Regions from separate parts of the Homo sapiens genome. Here region 2 is linked to region 1. The links are contacts of gene promoters, found by promoter capture Hi-C in human tissues and cell types (Jung and others, 2019). All regions are on one chromosome and are shown on one strand. Each heading gives the region's core, a stretch centred on a gene start or on the middle of the fragment in contact. The rest is flanking DNA. Distances are from core to core; before and after follow the strand shown.

Region 1 (6,112 bases), core at 907-3,406:
CATTTGTAACAGCCCCAAATTGGAAGCTACCCAAATATCCATCAACAATGTAATCGACTAATATACTACAATATATCCCCAGTATAGTGAGAGCTAAGTACAATTACACTGAACAACATGAATGAATTTCACAAACATAATATATAACAAAAGAAGCCTGGCATAAAACAGTACATGCTGCATAATTGCATATATACATGAAGTTCAAGAATGTGTAAGACAGCCAGATGCACTGGCTCATGCCTGTAATCCCAGCACTTTGGGAGGCCAAGGTGGGCGGATCACCTGAGGTCAGGACTAGCTTTGCCAACATGGGGAAACCCTGTCTCTACTAAAAATACAAAAATTAGCCGGGTGTGATGGGTGCCTGTAATCCCAGCTACTCAGGAGGCTGAGGCAGGAGAATCGTTTGAACCCAGGAGGCGGAGGTTGCAGTGAGCCAAGATTGCATCACTGCACTCCAGCCTGGGTGACAAGAGCAAGACTCTGTCTCAAAAAAAAAAAAAAAAAAAAAAAAAAGAATGGGTAAAACTAGTTAATGATAGAATTCTGAATAGATTGTGTGGGGGAGAAATTACTGAGAAGTGGTATGAGGGAAGCATCTCAGGTCCTGGCAAAGTTCTTTGTATAGATCTAAGAGTGTTACACAGCTGTACACTTAAGATTTGCACACTTTATATAGGCTCTATGTATCTATTGACAGCCTCCTGCTCTGTTGCCCAGGCTGAAGGGCAGTGGTATGATCATGGCTTCCTGCAGCTGCAAAGCACTGGGCTCAAGCGATCCTCTCATCTCAACCTCCTGAGTAGCTAGGACTTATAGGTGCCAGCCACCATGCCCGGCTAATTTTTTATGTATGTATGTATTTATGGTAGAGTTAGGGTCTCACTATGTTGCCCAGGCTGGTCTCCAGCTCCTGGCCTCAAGTGATCCTCTCACCTTGGCCTGGCAAAGTGCTGGGATTACACGCATGAGCCTCCACACTTGGCCTACAAAAATTTTTTTAACTCTTGGAACTATGCTTTGGTAGGGATATGGAGCAATAAGATATTTCAAACATTGCTGTTCAAGTACAAATTTGTGCAGCCACTCGGGTATATATTTTGACACTGTTTAGTAAAGTGGAAGATATATGAACCGGCAATTCTGCTGGTAAATAAACTCAAGCATGTGTACCCCATGTGAAAGAATGTGGCTGTGTTGTTTATAAAATGAAAAGCTATAAATAACTAATAGGGCATCATTACTAGAAAGGATGAATAATTGTGGTATACTTCAGAAGGGAGAATATAGCAAAGAAATTGAATTAACCGCGATTTTATCTAATAGGGATGATTCACAGAATTGTAAAAATAAACCAAAGACAGTATGACAACATTCATATAAAGTTTTAAAACGGGGAAAAACTGGAGTATAATGCCTAGAGAAGTATACGTAAGTGATAAAACCTCACACTGTGTGACTTACCCTGCCACACAAACCTGATCACACTCCCACCATGGGGACATTCAGCTACAGACAATCCACGCCCAAAGCAACAGGGTCGCACACGCAGGGCCTCTATCGGTCACATAAGCACAAGTGCACGCTTACCGAGGAGGCAGTCACAGTCACAACCACATTGTCACAGTCGGCGCACACCTGTACCGGGTCACAGTCACGATCACACATTAACCACAGCCACACACACAGATAGAAACATGCAGTTACTCGCAGGTATCCCCACCTGAACTCTGCCGCACACAGTCACACAGCATATAGTCGCACACCACTACGGGGACAAACGCAGTAACACTCAACCAGGCACAAGCTCCCCACAGCCGCACACACAATGCCGCACGTGGTCCTGCTCCCTCTCACACACACACCAGCAGCCACAGTCTCCGAGGCCGTGCTGCACACGGTGTGAGCGTTGGAAACACACTCATCACAAGGGCAGCCTGTCACAATCGCGCGATCATTCACCACACACCTCCACACAGACGCAAGCGCACGCTTTCAATCTCACCTCCACCGCCGCACAAAGCCGAGGCTTGGCCCCCGGCCCCGCCCTCTCCCGGGTTTCTCACCTCAGGCCTTACCAGCTTTCGAAGCAGCAGAACCCTCCCCGGCACTGGGGTAGTTGCTGGTAAAGCCCTGAGGGTCCCGCCAGCGCGTGAGTTGGAAGCTGAATTACCGCGAGAAGTACAGTCTTGCCGAGGAGACCTCTGGGAAGCGTAGTCAGAGACGTATCAAGGCCGGACAAGATGGTTCCCGATCGTCAGAATTCCTGTCCGCGCCTTGCGTCAGCCCCGCCGAAAGGATCGCCCCCCCTAGTCAAACCGCTCGCGCCCCAGAGGCCTCATGGAGTCCCGCCTCAGGCTCGGGCCTTGGCCCCCAAAGAAAGCCACTCCGACGTGTTTGAGATGGGCTTAGTTCCCGGACCCGTCCTACTGCCCCCAGGCGCTGGACAGCCTCAGAAAGAGGACAAGTCTGCATGGAAAGATAATCGCACAACTGAGCCTTCTGGGAGATGTAGTTCGGAGCTGGGAAGGCGGTTGGACCCTCCGAAAGTCATCTTAATTGCTCTCACAGATAAGCCGGTGCTGGGCTGCCGGCCTGAGTACTGTGCGCCCAGAGTGCGCAGGCGCAAACATCCTGGGTTGCTGTTTTGGCCTCTTTGTTCGGGCGTGAATTTTGTTTATTGCTCCTTAGTGCAGAGGGGTTATGGGACCAGAGGTTGTGAGACTCAGAAGTGGTTGGGGACGCAGAAGGGGTGTAGACCAGGAACCTGCGACCTGATGGGGGGAGGTCGAAGGGAAAGGAATCGCCAAACGTGGGACAGGTTTGGAGAGGCAGAAAGAGAGGAGTCTGAAATTGCAAAGGGCAGGTGTTATTCTGACTTCTGTGTGCTTTGTGATAAATGAGTGGGGCAGGAAGTAAGAGGAGTTTCACTTTCTCCTTCTGCAATTATTTGTGTACTTGGACTAAGTGTATCTCATGGCCAGTATTTGACTGCTTTTGACCTATAAAGGTATTGTATACACAGTCATGCATAGTTTAATAATAAGGATATATGCTCTCCCCACGGTCTCCCTCTCCCTCTCTTTCCACGGTCTCCCTCTGATGCCGAGCCAAAGCTGGACTGTACTGCTGCCCTCTCGGCTCACTGCAACCTCCCTGCCTGATTCTCCTGCCTCAGCCTGCCGAGTGCCTGCGATTGCAGGCGCGCGCCGCCACGCCTGACTGGTTTTCGTATTTTTTTGGTCTCCACCAAACACAGGGTTTCGCTGTGTTGGCCGGGCTGGTCTCCAGCTCCTAACCGCGAGTGGTCCGCCAGCCTCGGCCTCCCGAGGTGCCGGGATTGCAGACGGAGTCTTGTTCACTCAGTGCTCAATGGTGCCCAGGCTGGAGTGCAGTGGCGTGATCTCGGCTCGCTACAACCTCCTCCCAGCCGCCTGCTTTGGCCCCCCAAAGAGCCGAGATTGCAGCCTCTGCCCCGCCGCCACCCCATCTGGGAAGTGAGGAGCTTCTCTGCCTGGCCGCCCATCGTCTGGGATGTGAGGAGCCCCTCTGCCTGGCTGCCCAGTCTGGAAAGTGAGGAGCGTCTCTGCCAGGCCGCCCATCGTCTGGGATGTGGGGAGCGCCTCTGCCCCGCCGCCCCGTCTGGGATGTGAGGAACGCCTCTGCCTGGCCGCGACCCCGTCTGGGAGGTGAGGAGCGTCTCTGCCCGGCCGCCCCGTCTGAGAAGTGAGACCCTCTGCCTGGCAACCGCCCCGTCTGAGAAGTGAGGAGCCCCTCCGCCCGGCAGCCGCCCCGTCTGAGAAGTGAGGAGCCCCTCCGTCCGGCAGCCACCCCGTCTGGGAAGTGAGGAGCGTCTCCGCCCGGCAGCCACCCCATCCGGGAGGGAGGTGGGGGTCACCCCCGCCAGGCCAGCCGCCCCGTCCGGGAGGGAGGTGGGGGGGTCAGCCCCCCGCCCGGCCAGCCGCCCCGTTCGGGAGGGAGGTGGGGGGGTCAGTCCCCCGCCCGGCCAGCCGCCCCGTCCGGGAGGCGAGGGGCGCCTCTGCCTGGCCACCCCTACTGGGAATTGAGGAGCCCCTCTGCCCGGCCAGCCGCCCCGTCCGGGAGGGAGGTGGGGGGGGGTCAGCCCCCCGCCCGGCCAGCCTCTCCGTCCGGGAGGTGAGGGGCGCCTCTGCCCGGCCGCCCCTACTGGGAAGTGAGGAGCCCCTCTGCCTGGCCACGACCCCATCTGGGAGGTGTACCCAACAGCTCATTGAGAACGGGCCATGATGACAATGGCGGTGTTGTGGAATAGAAAGGCGGGAAAGGTGGGGAAAAGATTGAGAAATCGGATGGTTGCCGTGTCTGTGTAGAAAGACGTAGATATGGGAGTCTTTTCATTTTGTTCTGTACTAAGAAAAATTCTTCTGCCTTGGGATCCTGTTGATCTGTGACCTTACCCCCAACCCTGTGCTCTCTGAAACATGTGCTGTGTCCACTCAGGGTTAAATGGATTAAGGGCGGTGCAAGATGTGCTTTGTTAAACAGATGCTTGAAGGCAGCATGCTCGTTAAGAGTCATCACCACTCCCTAATCTTAAGTACCCAGGGACACAAACACTGCCGAAGGCCGCAGGGTCCTCTGCCTAGGAAAACCAGAGACCTTTGTTCACTTGTTTATCTGCTGACATTCCCTCCACTATCGTCCTATGACCCTGCCAAATCCCCCTCTGCAAGAAACACCCAAGAATGATCAATTAAAAAAAAATAAATAAATAAATAATAAGGATATATTCTGGCCGGGTGCGGTGGTTCACGCCTGAAATCCCAGCACTTTGGGAGGCTGAGGGGTTTGAGACCAGCCTGGGCAACATGGTGTAAACCCCGTCTATACTAAAAATGCAAAAATTAGCCGGGCATGGTGGTGCGCGCCTGTAGTCCCAGCTACTCGGGAGGCTGAGGCAGGAGAATCGCTTGAACCCAGGAGGCAGAGGTTGCAGTGAGCCAAGATTGCACCACTGCACTCCAGCCTGGGCGACAGAGTGAGACTCGGTCTCAAAAAAAAAAAGGATACATTCTGAGAAATGCATTGTTGGGCAATTTCATCATTATGGAGTGTACTGACACAAACCTAGATGGTATAGCTGACTGAACACTTAGGCTACATGGTATAACCTGTTGCTCCTAAACTACAAAGCTATACAGTATGTTACTGTACTGAATACAGTTGGAACACTGTAGGGACCAGCCCTACAAGGTCTGTGGGTTTTTCTCCCTGTGTGCAGAGACTAGAGGTGGTAGAAATAAAGACACAAGACAAAGAGATAAAAGACACCTGGGCCCGGGTGAGCCACTACCACCAAGACACAGAGACTGATAGTGGCCCCGAATGCCAGGCTGCACTGTTATTTATTGGATACAAGACAAGGGGGGCAGGGTAAGGAGTGTGAGCCATCTCCAATGATAGGTAAGGTCACGTGGGTCACGTGTCCACTGGACAGGGGGCCCTTCCCTGTTTGGCAGCTGAAGCGGAGAGAGAGAGAAGACAGCTTACGCATTATTTCTGCATATCAGAGACTTTTAGTACTTTCACTAATTTTGTTACTGCTATCTAGAAGGCAGGGCCAGGTGTACAGGATGGAACATGAAAGCGGACCAGTAGTGTGACCACTGAAGCACAGCATCACAGGAAGACGGTTAGACCTCCAGATAACTGCGGGCGGGCCTGACTCATGTCAGGCCCTCCACAAGACATGGTGGAGTAGAGTCTTCTCTAAACTCCCCCGGGGAAAGGGAGACTCCCTTTGCTGGTCTGCTAAGTAGTGGGTGCTTTTCCTTGGCACTGACGCTACTGCTAGACCACAATCCGCTTGGTAACAGGCGTCTTCCCAGACGCTAACGTTCCGCTAGACCAAGGAGCCCTCTGGTGGCCCTGTCCGGGCATAACAGAGGCTCACACACTTGTCTTCTGGTCACTTCTCACCATGTCCCTTCAGCTCATACCTCTGTATGGCCTGGTTTTTCCTAGGTTATGATTGTAGAGTGAAGATTATTATAATATTTGAATAAAGAGTAATTACTACAAACTAATGATTAGTGATACTTGTGTATAATCATATCTGTGATCTGTATCT
Region 2 (6,112 bases), core at 2,650-5,149, 230 kb before region 1:
TAGAAGACATTTGGCAATGTTTGGAGATATTTTTGGTTGTCACAACTGGAAGGAAGGATGGTATTGCTGGCACCTATTGGCTAGAGGCCAGGGTGCTGCTAAACATCCTATACTGTACAGGACAGCCTCCTCCCATCCCAAAGAATTATCTGGTCCAAAGTGAAAATAGTGTCAGAGTTGAGAAACTGTGCTCTAGAGACTTGATCAAATTCAAGTTCAGTTATTTTGGCAAGATCTGCTTGTCACTATTTTGTGATCAGATTTGTTAGTGGGCTTAAGTGTCATCAATGTGATTTATCCATTGTAAAGTGATTGCCTTTTGCATAATGTCATGCATTCACTGATGATCAATGCCTAGATTCATTATGTTGTTAGGAGTTGCAAACTGATCACTTTCTTATTGTGTCTCTCTTTCAGCCATTACTGGAATCCTTTTATTTCCATTACTGGAATTTCCATTACTAGAATCCTTTTATAAAAATAAAATCTGCCCACATCAACAATCTGATTACTCAGAGGGATAGCATGTGTAGGAAAGGGAGGATAAATGCTTGATTCTTTCCATTCATATTCATTAGTTTTCAGAATTACGAATTTCAGAATACTGCATTGGTTTCCTAGTTTCCAAAGGTGATTGCAGCAGATTGTATTTTCCAAAGATGGTTGCAATAATAGGCTTGTTCCATATGTTATTCTAGAATCTTGCCATTCCCACTTTAAGAGGTGGAGTCTAACTCCTCTGCCTTTGAATCTGGATTGGTTTATTGTTTATAACCAATGCTGTGTGACTCCCAGGGCTCAGTTTAAGAGGCACTGTGGCCTTCACCTCATTAGCTGAAACTCCAGTGTTTGAAATCTTGAGCCATTATCTAAGAAGGTCCAAGTGCTCTGAGCCGCCATGCTATGAGGAAGCCAAGTCACATGGGGAGGCTACTAGTCCAAGTCTTTGAGTCCTCCCACCCCAGGTACCAGACATGTGTGCAAAGCAGGCTTCATAGGTTTGCAGCCCTCAGGTATCAGGTTATTCCCAGCCTTTGAATCCTCCTGGTTGAGGCCACAGACATCAGGAGCAGGGGCAAACTATCTGCTCTGTGAGCTGTCTGAATTCCTAACCCACAGAATCAGTGAGCACAGTAAAATCATTGTATTATACTACTGAGTTTGGAGTGGTGTATTATACAGCATCAGTAACTGGTGAACAATGACTGATATACCCACACTTGTTTATGTCATATTACACACACACACACACACACACACACACACTTTTTTTTCTTTAGAGGTGGGGTCTTGCTGTGTTGTGCAGGCTGGTCTTGAACTCCTGAACTCAAGTGATCCTCCTATCTCAGCCTCCCAAAGTGCTGGGATTACAGATGTGAGCCACTGCACCTGGCCTATACTGACATATTTTATTTTACTTAAAAAATTTTTGGCTGGGCGCGGTGGCTCACGCCTGTAATCCCAGCACTTTGGAAGGCTGAGGTGGGTGGATCATGAGGTCAAGAGATCATCCTGGCCAACATGGTGAAACCTCATCTCTACTAAAAATACAAAAATTAGCTGGGTGTGGTGGTACACGCCTGTATTCCCAGCTACTTGGGAGGCTGAGTCAGGAGAATCGCTTGAACGCAAGAGTCGGAGGTTGCAGTGAGCTGATATGGCAGCATTGCACTCCAGCCTGGCAACAGAATGAGACTCTGTCTCAAAATAATAATAATAATAATATGAGCAAGAACAACTGCACCTAACAAATAAAAACTGATGGTAATACATAAGGTTACACAAATATTCAAAGACATATCATGATTCGAAAACCACATTAACTGTTCTCTTGGCTATCCCATACCAAGTGGAGCCAAAGGCTCTGCACAGGTTTCCAAACCCGAATCATAGCCATGATAGCAACTGTGGTCCTCTCCCTCCTGGTTACCTGCTCACCTGAAGCAGGTAAGAGCCTGCTTGGCTTCCTAGAGAGGCACTTCTGAGGCAGGAGAATAGGAAATTAGTATAACCAAGCCAGGCGCAGTGGCTCACGCCTGTAATCCCAACACTTTCAGAGTCCGAGGCAGGCAGATCATGAGGTCAGGAGTTCCAGACTATCCTGGCTAACAGGGTAAAACCCCGTCTCAACTAAAAATACAAAAAATAAGCCAGGCATGGTGGCAGGCGCCTGTAGTCCCAGCTACTCAGGAGGCTGAGGCAGGAGAATGGCGTGAACCCAGGAGGTGGAGCTTGCAGTGAGCTGAGATTCCGCCACTGCACTCCAGCCTGGGCGACAGAGCGAGACTCCGTCTCAAAACAAAAAGGAAAAGAAAATTAGCATAACCAAGGGTTAAGGTGGAAGCAAAAGAACAGCAGGTGCAGCAAGTTCTAGGCCAGGTTAAGCAGCACACAGGCCACATCCTCACTCCTGTGATGACAACACAGAAGTCTCCAGTTCAGCCTCTGGCCACGGGCCAATCCTTCATAGGGTGTAACCAATTGAAGACCTCGAAAAGGCACTTATGGGTGTTATCAAATTCTTTAGCTTAATAACTCTAAAGAACATTGTAATCTGGGCTCCTGAGCCGCTTGCTCTAGCCCACTCTGGCTCTGTAGAGTGGACTTTTGCTTCAATAAATCTGCAGTTTCGTTGCTTCTTTCTTCTTTCGTGGCTTTGATCTTTTGTTGCTTCGTGTAGTTTGTTTAATTCTTTCTTCAGTGAGCCAGAAACATGGACAACTTGCAGTCAAGACCTTCCATCCAGTAAAACTTCTACATTCTAGAAGTCTCAGTATTGCCAAGAGATGTCAAGGCATCAAGGGGTCAAGGTTAAGGCCTAAGATTAAGGCTCAATGTTATACGTGCCCTGACACTGGGGGAAAACAAGGAGGGCTGAATGGATTAACTGCAAATTCCCTGCCCCAATGTACTCCTTTGAATAAGGTGCCCTAGCCCAAGCACTTCCTTCAGAGGCCAGGCACAGTACCTGCTTACTGCGTAGTAGTGGGCGTCAGGTTCCAGCCAGCCTGCAGAATTATTCAAACAGGCCATTCACACCCTCCTTCAAGAACCAGGGGTTACCTCCCATACTCTTGGTACTACAAAGCCTCCTGGAATAGCCTCCACCTGATTACTGTGTTCCTGAGTGCAACACACTGTACCCCACATGGTGTGCTGGGCTCTCCTTCCCTGGGGCGAAAGTATGGGTAATTAGCAAACCAATGTTCATCTCATCTATCCAGTGTTAGCTACCATGTGCTTAGCAATAATCTGCACTTCCTTTCTAATTCTTGAGAGACATCCGGGTCCTCTGCTCCTGGGTGGAGGATTTTAGAAAAAAGGTCACTCAGAATGGGCAGGTGACTTGAACGCCTGCGGGTCCGACACAGCACCAAACCTCGCCAAGGCCTTCAGAAACCAAAAGTGCAACTGCCAGGAAAATGACTGCCCGTTCCAGTCACAGGACCGGCTACACGACCCAGGCAGAGACCGAGAAAGAGGCTCACCAAAAAGGCCAACATGCAAGAAACTGCCCTCCAGAGAACAGGGGACGTTTGTCCAAAGACATACATGCACACTCCCATTCACACACACAGCCCCAGCAATTTTTTTCAGGGGCTGCAGCCTGATCCAGAGCAGAGCGCAGTCAGCCTTGGCAAGGCGCATACACAAATCGCGAGCGGATGCTCACGTCACAGAGACCGCCACCGTTGCCTGGAGATGAGTTCTTCACTCTCTGCGAAGGAGGAGCCTTCTGTAGCAGCGCATCGGCTCGGGGCTAAGTCTAGTCCTCACTGGGGCGTCGACGGGATGGTATCCGGAGGCCAGGATTCGCGGAGGTTCGACCAGGAGGAAGAAACCTCAGGCGGAGCGTCTGGGAAGCAGCGCAGTATCCCAGGCTCAGGCCTGCGTGGACGGTGTGCCGGTGAGTCTCCCCAAAAGTCGTGCCCTTGCGATCTCCAGGACAGGTCTGCTTGTATGCCCAAGGGCTGCTCTCTCACCCCAGGGTCGTTGTCGCTCAGAGCAGAACCCAGAGGCTTCAGGGGCTGCCTGGAGATGAATGTTACTGTGCCACTGCAGTATGTCTGGGTTGTGTCTCTTTCTCTTATTTCTGTTTTCATTCTCCGTCTATCACTCTCTACCAGTTTCCGTCCGTGTGTGCGCGGGTGCGTGCGTGTGTTGGGATGCATGGGCAATGAAGGGCGGTTTCTTGTACCTTGGCCTTTCTTCTGGTGAGTCTCTCCTCGCATCTCTGTCTGGGTCATGTGGCCGGGTGTCATTCGTTTTCCAGGCGGTTACAGTTTGGGTTCGTGACCGGTGGGCAACGTGGGGAGCTACATGAGACACGGCGGGGATTAAATCAGCTCCCAATCATGAGCGGCCTCATTGCTAGAATCAAGACAACTACACCCCAGCAAAGGAAAAAATTCTCACAAAAGCTCATCATAAACCTGCTTATGCAGGTCGAGGTGCCCATCGACCTCACTCCTCTCAATCCTCTCGCGTGTGCCCTCACTGAGAAATCTAGCCACAGCTCGATACAGGGACGGAAAAGGAAGCCGGCAACGGGATGGGGCAAACATCTCTGTGGCTCCAACGCTGGCCTTCGTGGCCAAGTCACCCGTTTGGCACTCCTCCCCGGATGGCCGTGGTGGTGGCATTGCCGCCAATCCTGCCTGGGCTCTGGCCTCTGCTCTGTCCTCCCTCTTGCTCTGTCTGCCCTGTTTCTGAGAGGCCTAGGGGCTTGTTAGTCTGGCTCAATGTCTTCAACCCAGAAGACTTCCCAGTCCATCCGGGAGAAAGTTCCTGGGGGTCGGTGTCATGATTGTTTCCTTCTCCAAACCTCTTTCAGCATGATTGGGCAGGTGTGGTGATCCTGGAGCTCTGGGCTTTCATAGCTGTCTGGGACAGGGAAGCTTTCTGGGTCTCTGTGGCCCCGTGGTCGGTCCAGGAAGAGCGGGAGGCAACCCGACCGTTCCTGACATTTGCCTTCTAGGAAAGGCGGTGTGGCATGCCACCTGCACTTCCTCTCTGATTCTTGAGGGCCATCGGGTTCCTCTGCTCCTGGGGAAAGAGACTTCTAGCACTGAATCTTCTGGCTGCCACGGATGTCAGGGAGCCAAAGGGACTGGGTTTTGCTGGGTGCAGGGGAGGTCGCGTCGGGGGTACCTACCCGGTCGCGGGGTGGGGGTGGGGTGTAGTTTGTGGAAAGCTCTCGGCCCCTCTGGCAGGCATCTCTGAATGTGGCTTGGATTCGGGCGCAGGCCCTGTCTCGCAGGTTTTCAGGTGCGCTTGGCTTTTCCTCAGCTTTGTTGCGGAGGTCTCCCGTGGCCCCCGGGCGCACGGCTGGACACCACTGTCCGTCTCGCCATCGCCCCCTACGGCCTCAAAGACACCTGCTCACTCCATCTGCTTTTGGGGACGTCGGTGCCACGTGTGGTCACACTGGCTCCATCTCGGACTCGCCTATGTCTGTCTTTGCACGTGTCGCGGGAAGCAGTGTCGGTATGCCGGAGCCCCCGGGCCTTGGAGATGAAGGCAGGCCACTGCTCCACCCAGGAAGGAGGGAGGCAGTGGGCTCGTGTGTCAGTTCATTTTCCGCCGACAGCACGCCTTGGGGCTCTGGGGATCTTTCTGTGCCCCAGCGAGACCCTTCCCGCCTCACTGCATTGCAACCCCATTCTCGATCACCCGGTGGGATCCATCCTCGGAGCCGAAGAGGAGTCTGCACAGCCCAGCCGGCACCCTGAAGCTCCTCCTCCACTGGGAACGAAGCAGAAGACCGATCAAGGAGGTCCTGACGGCAGGACCCCTACGGGTCCGACCCTGGGTCTCCCGCAGGCCCCTCTGGCAATCCTCTTCCCACCCGCCGCCTCGGGCTGCGCTGCCTTCGCCGCCGCAAGCGCCGCCACCGCCGCCCCGGTCCCCGCAACCTGCCGCGTCGCCGCCATTTTTTAAAGGGTCCGCAGCCTGACTCTCTGGGGCGAGGGGCGAGTCGGCCTCTCCAGTGCGCATGCGCGAGGCCGGAGCCGCCGCTTTGGTCACAGGGATCACCACCGTTGCCCCGGGGTGAGTCCCTGAGACTGGGCCAAGTAGGAACCCTCTGTGACCGAGCGTCAGAGTCGGGGCT

Evidence for each region. Contacts are between HindIII fragments. The study calls those that stand out against the background at their distance.
Region 2: a contact is called between a fragment that was not itself captured here and the fragment with the promoter of ZNF566 in region 1, in 1 of the 25 tissues and cell types used here (pancreas).

What each region holds. Positions count from the first base shown.
Region 1 is chr19:36,487,405-36,493,516 of GRCh38, forward strand. ZNF566 (zinc finger protein 566) reads right to left here and starts at 2,157. Exons shown (of 5, transcript NM_001145344.1): 1 at 2,082-2,157. It overlaps ZNF566-AS1 (ZNF566 antisense RNA 1), which reads left to right and starts at 2,223. Exons shown (of 1, transcript NR_036504.1): 1 at 2,223-3,636. RefSeq lists enhancers at 1,253-2,140, 1,447-1,526, 2,087-2,646, 2,141-3,026. The HindIII fragment of the contact is 11,175 bases long and covers 1-6,112 here.
Region 2 is chr19:36,251,680-36,257,791 of GRCh38, forward strand. No RefSeq gene overlaps it. Among named protein-coding and RNA genes, the nearest start is that of CYKILR, 14 kb to the right of the region's middle. The HindIII fragment of the contact is 4,412 bases long and covers 1,694-6,105 here.